Linked DNA regions of Homo sapiens: region 1 is linked to region 2. The links are contacts of gene promoters, found by promoter capture Hi-C in blood cells and fetal thymus (Javierre and others, 2016). All regions are on one chromosome and are shown on one strand. Each heading gives the region's core, a stretch centred on a gene start or on the middle of the fragment in contact. The rest is flanking DNA. Distances are from core to core; before and after follow the strand shown. Region 1 overlaps CCDC15 (coiled-coil domain containing 15). Region 2 holds the start of NRGN (neurogranin).

Evidence for each region. The method cuts DNA at HindIII sites, captures the fragments that hold promoters and counts their contacts. A CHiCAGO score of 5 or more calls a contact.
Region 1: a fragment that was not itself captured here is called in contact with the fragment with the promoter of NRGN in region 2 in 1 of 17 cell types (total CD4 T cells); the score reaches 5.4 in total CD4 T cells.

Annotation. Positions count from the first base shown.
Region 1 is chr11:124,956,726-124,960,626 of GRCh38, forward strand. It overlaps CCDC15 (coiled-coil domain containing 15), which reads left to right. Exons shown (of 16, transcript NM_025004.3): 3 at 2,390-2,539; 4 at 3,090-3,278. Among named protein-coding and RNA genes, the nearest start is that of CCDC15, 4.5 kb to the left of the region's middle. The HindIII fragment of the contact is 912 bases long and covers 1,534-2,445 here.
Region 2 is chr11:124,737,255-124,741,255 of GRCh38, forward strand. NRGN (neurogranin) reads left to right here and starts at 2,688. Exons shown (of 4, transcript NM_006176.3): 1 at 2,688-2,845. The coding sequence starts at 2,831. RefSeq lists silencers at 2,387-2,446, 2,507-2,826. The HindIII fragment of the contact is 6,441 bases long and covers 6-4,001 here.

The sequences.
Region 1 (3,901 bases), core at 740-3,239, 220 kb after region 2:
ATTTCTGATCAGTTCCAGCCAAAGGGAGTTTGATCAAGCATCTAATAGAACTCCTTATAGCTTTAGCATATCTAGTCTGGGTATCCACCCTTATTAACGGATATAGCTCTGTCAGCTCAAAATAAATGCTGAATAGTTACTTCTAAAGCTTGGCCCTTAGATCATGTCTGTTCTAAAGGGGAACTTCTACTCATTTTTCTCCCCAAAATTTCAGGGGGCCATCAGGATTCCTAAAAATGTCATAGCTTTAGACTACCTCCCCCCAATAATTATTAATAAATTAGCATCAAAAGACACTGCTGTTCTATCATCATATATGGGATTGCATTATTTTATAATTTGTTCTGGTTACCTTTTGCTGTGTAACCAACCACCCCAGAACTTAGTGGTATAAAGCAAATAATACTATGTAACAGGAATTTGAGCAGGGTACAGTGGTAATGGCTTGTTTCTGCCCCATAGTGTCTGGGACCTCAGCTGGGGCTCAAATAACTGGACATGTCTGAGACACCTTGACTATTTTCCGGCTATTGGCTGGAGCTAGACAATAGTCAAGTTCTCCCAGTAATGTGGCACCTGCTGGGCTGTAATGTCCAAGATGGCTTTCTTATTCACATATCTGACGCTTGGCCTAGGATGACTAGAATGTCTGGGTGCTGGTTAGATATGTTTCTCTTTTCACATGGCTTCTCTGTTTGACTAACTTGGGCTTCCTCACAGCATGGTAATCTCAGGGTAGTCTGAATTTTTATATGGTGCTGACTTCCTTCAGAATGAGCACTCTAAGAACAGAGGTGGAAGTTTCTTTATGACCTGGCTTGTAATCTTGTGGAGTAAAAGAGGAGCAGAGAAAATGGAGGTAAAAGAAAGAGGCCGAATGGCTTAAACTTGTCTGGGGCTTGAGTTAAGCTGGGTCAGTTGTTCAGGCTTCATTACGTATATATCTCTCCGTTGGAATTATTTTACCTAATTGTTCTTTGACACTTGTACACTCCACTAGAGTAGTTTATGGGATAGACATCTTGGAAATTTTAACTTAAATTGAAATTTGAATGCATTTGATTTTGAGAATTTAATGACAGCCTGTAAAATGATCTGAGGTACCCTTCAGAATTAGAAGTTGGAATCACTGAGTTAGAAGGAATAGGTACGAGATATGATGATGATTTTATTTAATTTGAAAATTCCTAGTGAAAGAGAGACATAGTCAAGAGAAAAGCAGTGTAGAGAGGAACATAATTGTTGGAGTCAGAAACTTCTAATTCTGCTACTAGTTAGCTATATTAAAATTACTTAATCTTTCTGAACTCCAGCTTCCTCATCTGTAACATAAGGGATAAGAATACCTACTGCCAAAGGTGGTTTTGAGGATAGAGTGCTACAAAGTAGTTAAAATACTTGTCACCTGATAGATCCATAATAATGATAAGTGCTGTTATGATGATGACTATGATTATTATTCAAAGCACTTAGAGGAGATAAATGCAGATCAAGAACTCAAATGGGATAAAGTGTTCCAGATTGTTCAGAACAAGCTTGTCCAACATGCGGCCATGGGCCACATGTGGCCCAGGATGGCTTTGAATGCGACCCAATGTAAATTAATAAATTTTCTTAATTAACACTATGAGTTTTTTTGTGATTTTTTTTTTTCTCATCAGCTACTAGTGTTAATGTATTTTATGTGACAGTTCTTCCAACATGGCCCAGGGAAGCCAAAATATTGGACACCCCTGGTTTAGAATATGTTTTGGAATTGAGCAATTATATAAATATATATTGACTACCCTTATAGTGAAGGCTCTGTACTAGATGCCGTAGGGGAAATAAAGGAGAATTGAATACATATCCTGTCCTCAAAGAGTTCATAATCTAGTAGGGGAGTCAAGAAGTACTATACTCAGTTAACATTGGTGAAATGAGAGGTGTTATAGCATAAGAGGGCTTAGAGAGAGAGTGTTGTGGAAGGTACTGGGGAGTGGGTATTAAATGGTTGTGAAAACTGAATAGGCCTTTACTAGGTGGAGATGAAAGGAAGGGCATGCCAGGTTAAAAATGGAGCATAATGCCAAATATGAAGACATTTTAACAATAGGACATATTTGGTGAGTGGTAAGTAACCTGGTGTGTCTTGACTATTTACTCCATTTTAGAAAATGTGTAACGTGTTAGGTTTTATTTGGTTCATTAAGATTTAATGAAGACATCGTTAGTTCTAATTCAATAAAAAATTTAAGATTTGATACTCATACATTCCATTTTTTTTTGTACAGAATGGAATTATTTTTTTCAGGATTGTATCCTTATCCTGACTGTTTTGTGTTTAAAACAGCCCTAATGGACAAAACTGCTAACATTTAAGTTCATTTTCTGTCTTTCATCTTTAAAGACATCAGCATATTTAATTGAAGAAGAACTAAAGGAACAGCTAAGAAAAAAACAAGAAGCTTTGAAACATTTTCAGAAACAAGTTAAATACCGAGTAAATCAACAAATTAGGTTGAGAAAAAAGCAACAGCTTCAGAAGTCTTATGAAAGAGTAAGTTCAAAAGTGAGCCTGAGTAAAGATTGAATGGAAAATATGTGTGTTATGAGATAAGCTATTAGGCAGTAACAGAATTGCTTTCCTTTGATTACATGCCTAATATAATCTAATTAACTAGTGAAGACAGTAAATTTTTTTTGTAGAGAAACCATGTTTTATTCCTGTGTTCTGACTCAATTTTTTGCTTTTACCAAGTAGTTAAAAGCAATGTCAGAATTTTGGGTTCAGACTTGAGTTTGAATTTTGGCTTTGCTACTTCTAGCTATTGACTTTTGGCTAATTACTTAACTTCACTGATTGTAGTTTCTTCATCCATAAAATAAGGATATGATACTTCTCTCATAGGATTGTGTGAGAGTTAGATGAGATAACCTAAATTATTAGCACATGGGAGGTGCCTGGTAAATGTTAGTTTCTCTGCCAGCTAAAGCCTCTCCCCTGCCCCCCACCCCAATTTAAAATCTTCTGAACTGCTTTAGAGGCATTATTTGATTGCTCTGGATTGGGGTAGAATGTTACTATCCCCCTTTCTTCTTTCGTGTAGGCACAAAAAGAAGGCTCCATAGCCATGCAGTCTTCAGCAACACACTTAACTTCCAAAAGGACAAGTGTTTTTCCAAACAATTTGAATGTTGCTATTGGAAGTTCTAGGTTACCTCCTTCCCTGATGCCTGGGGATGGAATAGAGGATGAAGAGAATCAGAACGAATTATTCCAACAACAAGCCCAGGCTGTAAGTACCTGTTCTTTTTATTTTATGTCTATGATATTTTCCCTATCCCCTAAACTATAAATATGACATCTAGGGTATGAGGTAGGGATTAAGAGTTATCACACTCAGCTTCACTTTTGATAATCATCCCCCTTTTTTTTTTTTTTTAGCTTTGTAAAGTGGGGAATAGTGGGATAATGCTTTTTAAAAATTTTAAATTTAAATTCATTTGTGTTTGGTAAGATACTCTAAAATTATCTAAAGAAAAGTGCCGCGGAGCCTGCAGTGAGCCGAGATTGCGCCACTGCACTCCAGCCTGGGCGACAGCGAGACTCCGTCTCAAAAAAAAAAAAAAAAAAAAAAAAAAAAAAGAAAAGTGCCAAAGTGCTAGAATTCAAAACCTATTAGAAAGCACTTTAGGTCAAGAACATGGATTTTCCAAGTTATATTGAAATTATATTCTAGGCAAGCTACTATTAGTTTGTAATTTACAGAGAGAAATAATTCTTACCTTCGTTGCAAAGAAGTTCAGTATACATAGGTGGCATTTCATTTATTATTTATCTTTGTCTCATTTTTCTTATTTTTGTTTTTTAATCTGATTATCACAATAAATGAATCTATAGTTGTAGGTTAAAGAATAA
Region 2 (4,001 bases), core at 1,438-3,937:
TGAGAAGCTTTAAAATTTGAAAAGTCAAGAACAACTACGAGTCCAAGCCCATCTGGACAGTAGGTCATACTCCAAATGTTGACCGGTGGCACCCAGGCCCTAGGCCAGGCAGGTTACCATGGGGAGTATAACTTGGCATCATTCTGCCAAAGACCAGAGCCTGCAGAGGCAGACCCAGCCATCCCTTACTGCATCTGTCCTTTGTCCTAGCTCACCTATTTGAGTATCACAGGCTGAGTCCCACCAGCCCACCTTGCTGACAAACCCCAGCCACCTAGAGGCTCAGAAGAGGGACCTTTCCCCAGCGCTAGTGGGTGCCTTGGCCCCACAGTGGTTAAGGGGCCCACGCTGAGCATGTCTTTGGATGTCAGTGGGTGACAACCCGTGCAGGGTGTGTGTCTCTGGGTGTGTGGGCAGTGTGTGTGTCTGCATCTTTGGGTCTGTGTGTGTAATTTCTATGAGGCCATATGTGTTACTGCTCCTGCCACTGGTATTTGAGTTTGTGAGTGTCTGTCTTCTCATCTCAGGCTCTGCCTTCCTCTCTGTCTTTTCCTCACCTCAGAGCCTGCCCATCCCCCAGGGCCAGCACTGTGGCCAGTTCTGCGTAGGCGCCTTGAGTGGGCTGTTGCTGAAATGGTTGCTTTGCGGATGGAACTGACAGTTGCCGTATCTGTTCTCCTATGGGCCCTCCAGTGTTCAGAGACACCCTCACCCCACACAAAGGTGTCCTTCAGGAAGAGGGAAGGGCTGTGCTGCCTGTGTGGGAGTTGGTGGGGGGGGTGTTGTAAAGATACCCCCCCTTCAGTTCTGACCAGCAGGAAGAAGGGCCCAGAGGCAGCGCAGTCTGCAGAGGGATGTTGCCTAGCAACTTGGGAGACTTGACTGCAAACTCACCAAATCCCGAATTCCTCAGCTCTAATTTGGGAAGAGAAAAGCACAGAGTCTAGGCCTGGTATCCACTCTGTCCCCCAATTTCCCCCTTTCCTCTCCTCTCTGGATTCTGGAGTTGAAGTCCAGCAGGAATTGGCACAACAGAAGGCCACAGATGTGCGTGTCATTTAGGCAAGGGCCTGAGTTCCCAGGACATCTGGCCACTTGGAGGAGGTGGGGAGATGAAAGATGTGCCAGAGACAGATTGGGGAACAGATTTTTTTTTACAAAAGTGGGTGGGTCCCAAACATGCTGGGAGAGACACCCCTACACCCCAAGCCCTGGAATCCCGGCCAGCATCCAGCTCAGCCTGGGACCCCAAGCTGGCTAACCTTATCCCCACCCTGAATGGACTCAGGCATTTCTCTCCCACTCATTTTTCCTTTGGCAAGCAGAGCCTCGGGCCCAAACATCTAGGTGGAAAGGAAGCATGTCACCGCCACGTGGTCCCTGGTCATGGCCAGGGACTGGGGATGCACAGCAGAGCTGTCTCAGGATCTGCTGTCCCAACCAGAGCCACAGGGCATTTCCCACCTTTGCTCCCAGCAGGAGCCATCCTTTCCTCCTTCCCTTCTCTGGGACCTTAGCTGAGAAGACTTTCTAGTTTTCTCAGAGAAGGCCTACCCTACCCACATAACAAGCCACACTGCCAGCTTTTGTACCCTGCCGAGTTGGGGGAGGCTGACGACCACAACAGTGGCAGTCTGTCCCTCCCAGATGCTCTTTCCATAGCTCCCCTTCCCAGCCTCTCACGAAGCCCACATCCTGCCTCATCATGGACCCAAGAGCCAATTACTTCGAATTCTCTACACTTGGGTTTAGGGTATTTTTCTTCTTCTCAGGAGCAAGGGCGAGGATGGCCAGCTTTTGTCTTATTCTGAGGCAGCAGATCAAAAGGTTAGGCAGAGTCTGGTATGAAAGGGAGGAGGATACTTCTTCCAAGTCTGTGCCCATATATAAATACATACAAAATAGGTGTTGTGCATATATGATGTTGTTTGTTGCAGCTCATGTAGACAGATCGATAATAGATACGTCATGCCGACAGCTTGAGTTGGGTGACTGTCCGTGTGCGTGCGTGAGCGCGCGGGCGCCCGCAACAGGGTGTCCGCATTTACCTGCAACTGAAGGGCTGCGTAGTTATTTTTGCAGGTTGTATCTGCAGTGTCTGTATGCTGGAAGAAGGCCTGGGAAAATCATATGTGGACATGTGGGGCTTGTGAGCTTTTGTGTGGACGCATGCCCATCGCCAGGTTGTACCAACAGGTTTCTCCGTCTGTAGCAGGAGTGATGATGAGACCTTTTTACCGCCCGTTAGGGAGCCTTTCTTTGCGGACTGAGGGGGAGTGAAGTGAAAGGGAGCCATATTTGGGACTCCTGCTAGGTTGTGGAAGTATGGAGGGATGGGTGAGGGGTGCGTGGTTTTCTCTGAGCGGGAGTAGGTGCTGTGCCCAGATGTGGGTGTTTGTGCTCGGGGTGTCGGGGGCCTCCTTCTGCCTACTCCGGCGTACATCTGCCTGGCAGTCTGCCGCCTAGCAAGCCAGGGGATTGCGCCCGGGAGGATGGAGTGTGTAGGAGGCTTGGATACAAGCGTGTAGGCGGAGGGGCTGGGGCAGGAGCGGGAGCGCGGCGCAGAGAGCCGCGAGAGGGCGTGGCCCTCCCTCCACTTCTCCCCGCCCACCCTGCCGGAGGCTGCTCCTGATTGGCTTCCCGGCCGCGGGGCTCAGGTTACATTCGCGAGCGGAGCCGAGCGCGGGAGACCGGACCCGAGAGCAGAGCTGCTGTTTCGGCGCGGGTCGGCTGGCGGCCGACTGCCCCAGAGCCCCCACCCGGCACCACACAGACCCCACCCCCGCCCTGCGCCAGCCTTCGTCCCCGCAGAGGACCCCCCGACACCAGCATGGACTGCTGCACCGTAAGTTAGAGGGCCCGGGGGAGGGGCACTTGGCGGGGTCCGCTGCGAGAGGCGCCTGAGAAAGCCCTGGAGGGCGAGAGAGGGATGGAAGTGGATGCGGAAGACCTAGGAGCAGAAAGAAAAGGGGTCCTTGCCGAGACGTGGGTGGTGGATGGTGGAAGGCGCCCGCCCGACTTGGAAGCCCTAGGAAAAATGCTCCTCAACTCGCGGGGGCGTCTGAGCGCCCATCCGTTAGACAGCCTAGGCTGGACTGGGAGCTCGGCAGGGCTCTGCAAGAGGGGAACTGCGGGTTGGATGACAGGAGGAACTTCCTCCCCAGTGAGACGCTGGCAACCATCGCCTGGAGACACTGCAGCGACTCCTTCCTCCCGTCTTTCGGCCCCCACCCCGTTCCCCATCCCACTGCGCCGCCGTCGGTGGGCGGACAGGCTGATCCTCATGACCCTCCAACGATCGCCTAAGCGCCCTGTGCAGCGCAGGCTGGTCCATATTGGTTAGCTCGGTAGTGATGCTGGCTGCAAAGAGCCTAGTCAGGGTGGTTCTGGGGAGGGGTTGTCCCGGCCCCCAAGGCCTTCTCGCTCGGAAGGGGCTGGGTGAAGTGACCGCGAGAGAGCCCTGCTGGCGAGGAAAGGAAGTGTCTGCAATTTGTCAGCGCCCACGCGGAAACCTGGGTACTGCAAGTGCCCAGCGCCCGAGGGGTTTGCTGTAAAGGTGACTCGGTATGAAAGCGCCTGGCATAGGCCCTGGCTCCTGCCTCACTGGAAGAGTACAGTGATCATACGTATATGAAATTTATTTGTTTGCTTATTTATTTTTTGCCTCTGCACTTGGAGAAAGACTATTCCAAAGTCCTTGTATTTTCAGTCATTCAGTCAACCAGCTAATGATACACGAGGTTACTGACTTTGCCACCTTATGGCATAGTAAAGAAAAAAAAAGTGGGCTTTGGAAGGGAAGGATAGCCCAGTTCTATAATAGGTGAGACTTTCCCATGTCTGGGTACCAAGAGGCAGAGAACACTTAGGGGCAAGTGGTGGTGGTTGCGATTTTAACTCTTATTAGTTTAAGTAATAGTTGCCAGTTTGTGAATGCCTGCCCTGTAGCCAGCACTTTATATTTAATCATAGCAACAACCCTGTGAAGTAGGTATTATTTC